Regions from separate parts of the Homo sapiens genome. Here regions 2 and 3 are each linked to region 1. Evidence: promoter capture Hi-C in human tissues and cell types (Jung and others, 2019). All regions are on one chromosome and are shown on one strand. The core of a region is centred on a gene start or on the middle of the fragment in contact, and the rest is flanking DNA. Distances in the headings are between cores, read along the strand shown.

Region 1 (2,700 bases), core at 157-2,656:
CATCAGCCACTGGCTTTTCCTCTCCACTTCGTGTAAGTTTGGAGTTCTGGCCTGTAAATTAGGTCATCAACCACTTCACCTTGAAAGGAGAAAAACACGAAGAGCTTAAGCAGTTTATCTATGCTCTTACAGCTCTTTAGTGTCAGAGCAGTGTGTTCACCTAGAAACTGCTGTTAAAATTCCAAATGACAGCAAGTCAAGCACCGCTGCTGTTCAACAGTTTCCTTCTCACATTAAAAATGGAATAATGGATATATCCACGACTGAAAATCCTACTCAGTAATAAACAATAAACACGAACACACTGATTTAAGCAACGGACATAAAAGAATCTCAAAAACATTAGGCTGCGGGAAAGAAACCAGACACAAAAGAATACCTACTGTATGGTTCCACTTACCTAAAGGCAAAACTAACTTGGAATGATAAAAATCAGATCAGTAGTTCCCTGGAGTCAGGGGAGAGTGAGGAATACCTGGCAAATAGGTGCGTCGGAATTCAGGGGGAGGGGCGATATTGATTACAGGGTAAATACATTTGCTAAAACACACATAACTGTGTTCTTCACAATCATGTAAGATAAGGAACTTAATCCCAAGGGGCCTACTGGCACCAGACTAGAAAGATGCAGCCCTCGGGTATTCTACTTTTGCTACTTTTGTTTCTATCATGGAGAGAAGATGTTAGAAAATTTGGAAAGGAGTCTCCTCAGATGGATTTTGTGGCACCTCCTACATAGAGGTAGGGGAGGAAGTCGAAAGCCCGCCCACCCAATAGATCCAGAGGCACCGACCTTGGGAGGGGAGAAGGGTGGACAGCGGGGACACTCACCACTTAGCAGGCTCTCTGGGTGATAGCCACAGTCCAGCAATTCTGAAATGCTGGCCGGGTTCTTGCTGCTCAAACTGCCAGTTGCAACCATGGTCAACGGCTCTGTTTCCTTCGCGAGGCGCAACGGCCTTTCCTGAGCGCTGGAAAAAATGAGGCGAGAAGAGACGGATTTGCAAAAGCAGGCGAGTCGTGCAGAGGCTCCTAAAATGCCCGGCGTCCCGGGAGCGAACTAGCGGAGGAACTCCTTTGCCAAAGGGGTGGAACCGGCCTCTGCAACTCAATTTGACAAAGCCCTGGGAGCGGAGCCGCAACCTGAAACTAACTCAACAGTTCGCAAAACTTGGAAGCGACCTGCCCCGCGGAGCGCCCCCCGGCCCCGCTGCCCCCACCAAGGCCGCAGCTTCGCTCACCTGCCAGGAGTTCGCGGGGGCCTGCGCGCTCGCTGCCGGGTAAACACAGGCAGGTGGCTTCTTAGGAGTCCCCTCTCCTGGGGACTCGGTGACCTGCAGACCCCAGCAGCCAGCGGCACCCTGCTCACCCCTCCCGGGCCACCCTGCGCCGGCTCCTCGCAGTAGCATAGCCTCCGGGGCAGCGAGAACTTTATAGGTCCAGTCCCCACCCTGCTCAGGCCCGCCCACCTGCACCGCCCCTCCCCGGCCAGCGCCCCGCCCCTCCCCTCCAGAGTCTGGTCCCCTTTCAACCTCTACACTTCCAGGGAGCCCGAGCCTAGCCACAGGGAGTTGAGGATAAGCCTGTGGTAGAGCGGACACCTGTTGCTTCCAGGGTAGATCTCGGGCCACTGGGACCGCAATTCCGGGTGCACGACTCGTCAAAGCCTGAACCTGATTGTTCAGTGCGACCCCTCCCCGAGCGTCCGCGCTTTCACACTCAGGCTGCTCCCGGCAGCGGGAAGCTTTAAGCGATCTGTGCATTTCCTTGTCCTGGGGCTTTGCTGTGTCATCCTGAACACTTGGCTTAAATCTGTTGCAACGTCCACTGAGCATCATTTATGCACTTATTTCTGGCCTCTAACCCAGTCAACTCTACTCTGCCTCCCAGGGTTTCTGTATCCTCCTCTGCTGCAAGCGGTCAGATCTAGTTTTCCTTTCCCGCATCGAAGGCTCGCCAGCATTTTAAGAAGGGCCTTAATGACCCCACGCACTCCGTGGCTCCCTGGCATTCTTCGTGCACTTACATCTGTGGCTAATGCGTTTTCTTCGCAGGAAGGGTGAGCCTGGCACTCTTCTAATTAGACCTTGCCCCAGAGCGCGGGGAGCTTGAATTGAGCGGGAGTTTGCCAAGAAACACACAATACCATTAGTAGGATCTTAGGTACTCCTCTATCCGTGCATCGAGAGCAACTGTCATTTCCGGAGGCAGAAGTTTCTGGCGAGCCCTGTTGGGAGGATCTTTGGTTTGGGATATTTTGAAGAGGTTTCAGAGACTGAAGATAAAGAGTTTTATATTCTGCTGGGGATCAGCAGATAATCCCTGTGAGGGCTCCGTGCGGTCCTGCACAGGAACACACAGAGAGGCAGAGGAGCCCTGGAAAGAGGCAACATGCCCGCATAGCCCATGAGCAAGAAGCCAAACCTGATTTTTTTCTTCCAAAGTTATTAAGCCACGGTTTTCTCGCTTTGGTGTGCCAGTAGGAGATGATCTGTTCAGAGAGTCAGCTTGGGGTGCGTTAGGGGATGCCTGGAGGGAGAAGGTTGTTCCTACAGTAGAGATCCCAGTGTTGGCTCCCAGGCCCTCTAGGATTATGTGTAGAAGGATTTGCAGGTTAGAACCTTGAAAGGCAGTTTCAGCTGTCCTGGCATAAAACTCTTAGAAAAACAACAACAGAAGGGGTATAGAGGGTGTGATAAA
Region 2 (2,700 bases), core at 9-2,508, 66 kb after region 1:
TTTAATTTTCATGTCTTGTATATTTACTAGTAAGTTTGAGAATTTTTATTTTCTTTTTTTTGAGTTACATGTTTATATTTTTTACCTTTGCTTTTTCCTTATGGATTTGAAGACACTCTGTGTGTGTTAGGTAAGTTAGCTTTTGTCCACTTCCATATTAGAATATTTTCTTCAATTTGCTGTTTGTCCTTTAACATATTTACAGCAACTTTGTCAAACAGAATTAAAGTCTATACAGTCTTGTTCACATTTTTTTTTTTCCTTTATGGCTTCTGGGTTTCTTGTCTTTCTTGGAAAGGCATTCTATTCCTTCTAGTTATATTTTCTGTACATTTTCTTCTAGTGCTTTTTGAGCTTTTTTATATTTAAAACTTTAAGCAACCTGAGATTTATTTTAATATTTGGAATGAGGTGAGGCTCTAACCTTATTTTCTTCCATATGAATATAGTTTCTCAATATCATTGATTAAATAATTCATTATTTTTCCTCTAATTTGAAGTGCTGCTTTGATTATACATAAACTATTCATGTACATATGAATCTGCTTCTGGGCTGTACTCTTTTCCTTTAATCTATTTGTTAATTTCTGCATCAATATTATGCATCTATAAGTACTTTAACTTTTAAGTATCTTTTATTATTGTAAAGAAGGGACTTTTATTTTTTTATAATATTTGAGTTTTCTCTTTTGTAATTACTTTTAAAGAACTATTTAGACTATCTCTTTAGCCCATTTTATTCATTTGTTAAAGTTTTGTGGTTTTCTTCTTGTAAGTTTGCACATTTCCTTTTTTATTTCTTAGGTAGTTATTTTATAAATTTTGCTACTATTGGTTTTTTTCTAACTGGGTATTCTTGGTATAAAGGAAAGCTTTGGTCTTTTGAAATATTAATTTGGCTTGTTAGTAAATTCTGTTATTTCTAATTGCTTCTAGTTGATCCATAACCTTTTGAATATTTCCTCTAGCACACAACTGCACGTGGCTCTCTCAAGTTTTGGTGCAACCCAAATTCTCAACTTACTTATCTGCTCTTCCAAGATCTGCTTCTGGTGCAAGGGACAACTGTGGCATAATGGCAAGAGCACTAAATATGGTCAAAGGAGACATAGGTTGAATACCGTCTTGTGTATAACATTAGCTAGAATTGAATTCAGCTGCAAGTGTTCGAAAACCACCAAAATAAGAGTGGTTTTATTATGTAAGATCTTATTCTTGCTACGAAAGAAGTCTTAATGCACGAGTGGGCTGGTAAGGTGCTTTATGAAGTTGTTTCTGACATCCCTAGGACAAGACCCTCATCCTTATGTCCCAAGAAAGTGTTTGTGCACCAGTGATTATGTCCGATTCCAGGCCAGCAGTAGGAAGAGAAGGTGGAAAAGCCTATGAAGGGCCCACCATTAAGGCCATTTATCTTGAATCATCCATAATCCTTTCACTTACAGATTATTTGACAAACCTACTCACATGCCTATGCCTAGCAGGAAAAGAGTCTGGGTAAAGTAGTTGTTAGAAACTAAAACTGTTTAAGTGAGCAAGTAGATAATGTATACTGGGGTGTTTATTACTTAGGAAGAATGGATAGAGAGAGAGTTAGCAGTCTGTTGAGTCACTAAATACATATGTGAACATGCGCCAATTCAATTTTTTTCCATAAAGAAAAAAAGCATTTCTTATGATTATGAAATAATACACCACCATTAGGAAGAATTCAAACAAATCGGAACATTTGAAGACAAGGATAACAAGTAACTGAAATCTTACAAGTCAGAGATACATTTCTATTAGTAAATATTTCTTCGTGTACCTCTTTGTACACACACCACATACTTTACAGAAATGGCATTATTTTACACATTGCTTGCTTTCTCTAAACCTGCTGGGGATGTTTTGTCTCAGGATAATTGCATTTATGATTGCTTCTATCTGGAATGTCCTCTCTCTAGATACAGGTATGGTTATCTCCCTCCCTTTCTGAGTATGGCTAGCTACTTAACTTCATTAGTGTGGCCAGCTTCCTCACTTCCTCGGTACAGCTAGCTCCTTCACTTCCTCACAGAGGTGGCTTCTCCTTTTCTTCCTCAGTGTGACCAGGCCCCTCCCTGACTCAGCAAGGCTATCTCCTCACATTGTCATGTTGCTAGCTCCCTCCCTTCCTAGGTGTAGCTAGCTCTGTCACTTCCTCATGTGAACAGCCCCTTGCCTCACTGACTCATGTGGCTAGCTCCCTGCTTCCTTGAGGTTTTTGCTGAAATGTCATTCATTCAGTGACACCTCCCTGATGCCAGCTCCATTTATAATTGCATTCCTCCCCCCTTTTCATATTTTATTTTAATTTTCTTCATAGAATTGATCACCTTCATATATATATGAAATACATATATATAAATAAATATATATACATATATATATATGAAATAGTTATTTTGCTTGTTTTCTGTTCTCCCGAGACAATAGAAGTTCCACAAAAGTAGGGATTTTGTCTTTCTTGTCCACTGTTTATCCAGTGCATAATATAGGGCCCAGAACCTAGTAAGCACTCAATAAATCCTTATCAAATGATTGCATTCACTGTATTTCACAACACCTGATCACATCAATTAGTTGTGAAGATTAAATGAGATAACATAGATGACACTTAGCACAAGAGAGGAGGCAGAGGCTTAAAAGAGTTGAAGCTGCTGTTACTTCTATTTAGAC
Region 3 (2,700 bases), core at 78-2,577, 95 kb after region 1:
AACGTCTGCCTCTACCCTGCCTGCTCTTTGAACCATTGAGGAGTGGGACTGGCAGGAGCCGGGGCTGTGTTCTTATCAGTGAATGTAGTGTGAAACCCAGTCTTCGGTGTCTGGTGTGAATGCACGGCCTGCTGCCATGTGCCATGTAACAGTTGGATCCTATTGCAGCTTCCTTATTCAATATTCATAGTCATCTGCTTCATTTGCCTTTGACTGGGTTTCTCCTCACTGCATTTTCCTTCTGGGCCCAGATTCTAGCCATAATTTGCTCTCTGGTTTCCCTAGTCTAGTTGCTCCCAGCCCCATTCCCTGAGACTGCACCTGGCTTCCTAGATCACTTAACATTGACTCAGATCAGCATGTGGATTTGTGACTCAGGGCTCAGATTTCAGAACTTGCCTTCCTCAGGCTCACCTTCGGGCCCTCCGATTCCCAAAATTGGATACAGGGTCTTCCTTGGAGAGCTTTCTGGTATGTATAGTCCTCATCAGTAGAGTGTCTTGATGTCAGTAAACTCCAGCCAAAAATATGGTTACTGTTAATATTTTCCAAAGTGAAATTTGTCCAACTTAAGCTGACATTATAGTTGAAAAGGTACTTTGGTAAATTCTATAGTGGAAATTGTCACTAAATGTAATAACTTAATCTTCTCTTATTGACATTTGACTTAAACACATCTCTGAGATGCGCGCGTGCGTGTGTGTGTGTGCGTGTGTGTGTGGCTAAAATTGCTAATAATGTTTAAGGCAGAGAAACGTGGTAGAATGGCACAAGATAGGGCATTCATCACACCTGTCTTTCTTGCATGTCTACCTGCTGTGATGAAAGATATCAAAATAGTTGATGTTATAATACTATTGTCCCAATCAACCTTGGTTAATTTATGTCTTCCTCTTGGAGAAAGCTAAACTGAGGAGGTCATTGTAGGTTCACTAAGACATTCTTTCTAGCCCAACAACTATTATAAAAACACACATCCAAGTGGAAAGCAAAAGCTTCATTTCTAATAATTCAGATAATTTGTTCAGGTGAAACAATTTTCTGAGAATTTCCAGATGTTTAAGTGTTTCGCTTTTCCATCTGGTGCTTGCTGTTGTATAGAGCAGTCCAGCATTGCTTTGTGATACTGTTGGTTAACACTGACTTGCCAGAAGCCTGTCCTGGGAATATCAATAGGATCCACTGATTCCCAGAAGAAATCAATTAGGAATGAGGAAAGAAGAGAAGAGGAAGAGGCAATATTTAACCCTCGCTTATTTTCTCATCTAACTCATTTTCAGTCCTCTTCCCAAAGAGAACAAATGACAAGGCTTTGGCAACTAAGATAGAAAATGATGGAAAATTAAAAACATATAGGGTAGTTTAAGCAATCTTTTAAACATTTGTACAAAAGAAATGAAAAAACTCTGTATGAGAAAGTTACGTATTTTTTAGTTTACATGAAAAAAAAGAAAAAAAGAATTAACCAGTTTTTCCCGGTTACAAATGTTTTCTTTAAATCTTTTTGTCTCAATGTTTTTTTTTTCTTCTTCTTCCCGTTCTCCTCTCTCCCCAAGCCCTAGCAATCACCAACATGCTTTCACAAAAAAACTATTGTCTCAATGTTTTAAGAAAACTTTTTGACAATGAAAATTGTCCCATTTTTTATGAAAAGTTTTCTGGAATAGCAATGCACTAAATTCCAGTGCTTTTTACCTTAAGTTTAAACAATTTTTTTCTTATGAAAAGGGCTTCAGCACTGAAGAAGCAGCCATATTGATAGGCCTCTGCTTTTGATTTGCATGTCAAAACTACTTCCTGAAAACTAATTCTTACTCTACTTTGCAAATCTTTCCACAGTTGAAAGAGTCATAAAATACGTAAAACAAAAAGCACACAAAAAAGTGCACATTTCTGACTGGTTACCCATGATGGAATGGTGAGGTCAGGGAAAATAAACAAAAAATAGAAACTGTCAGTCTATATTTTTTAGTCTAAATCATATATATATACATATATATACATATATATATATTTGTTGTTACCATTTGTTTATCTTAAATATTTAAATCATAACTTGAAATTGATCTTAGAACCTTACTACAATTGGATGCCCAGAATAGTGGCTAGCACAAAAAGTGGGTGTGGAATAAATATTTATTCCCTAAATGTATGCATGAATGAAGATTTTTGTATTTATTTTCTGTAAATTCTTATAAAATATCATATGACAACTCCAGAATCTGGACCAAAGCAAGTACTAATTTCTGAGTTCGGGCTTAATTTTAAATTATTAAGTTTGTGAAGTGTTTGGAAATGCTTTGCTTATGGAATGTTAGTTGCACATAACATAATATCACTCTTTGTTTTATATCTGCAAAAATAAATAAAGATTTGTGCTATCTGGTTTAATTATCTCATTAGAATTCAGTAAGCTATGTAAAGGCTGCCTTTTGGGGCTCATTAAGCCAAACTTCCCCATCAGTATTAGGAATGTTGCAAGTGAAGAAAATACATTTTAGAGCGGAGAGTGTGTTGTTGCTGAAAAGTCATTTGGTTGCTACAATACTGCTTGCAAGGAGGGAGGGGGCCTTCAGGCCAGATGGCAGGCAGGTACCTGGGAGGATTACATGGTGTGCAGCTCTTGCTGCAGAGGAAGAGATCAGTTTACGGTGCTGGGACCAGATCTTTGTGGCAGCAGGTTTCTGAGTGTTGATGTGC

Evidence for each region. The method cuts DNA at HindIII sites, captures the fragments that hold promoters and counts their contacts. A contact is called where the count stands out against the background at its distance.
Region 2: a contact is called between a fragment that was not itself captured here and the fragment with the promoter of DDIT4L in region 1, in 2 of the 25 tissues and cell types used here (pancreas and spleen).
Region 3: a contact is called between a fragment that was not itself captured here and the fragment with the promoter of DDIT4L in region 1, in 2 of the 25 tissues and cell types used here (H1 embryonic stem cells and dorsolateral prefrontal cortex).

What each region holds. Positions count from the first base shown.
Region 1 is chr4:100,189,062-100,191,761 of GRCh38, forward strand. DDIT4L (DNA damage inducible transcript 4 like) reads right to left here and starts at 1,407. Exons shown (of 3, transcript NM_145244.4): 1 at 1,242-1,407; 2 at 832-971. The coding sequence starts at 922. DDIT4L-AS1 (DDIT4L antisense RNA 1) reads left to right here and starts at 972. Exons shown (of 5, transcript NR_125924.1): 1 at 972-1,013. The HindIII fragment of the contact is 5,141 bases long and covers 1-2,700 here.
Region 2 is chr4:100,255,647-100,258,346 of GRCh38, forward strand. No RefSeq gene overlaps it. Among named protein-coding and RNA genes, the nearest start is that of DDIT4L, 67 kb to the left of the region's middle. The HindIII fragment of the contact is 7,611 bases long and covers 1-2,700 here.
Region 3 is chr4:100,284,173-100,286,872 of GRCh38, forward strand. No RefSeq gene overlaps it. Among named protein-coding and RNA genes, the nearest start is that of DDIT4L, 95 kb to the left of the region's middle. The HindIII fragment of the contact is 3,637 bases long and covers 1-2,700 here.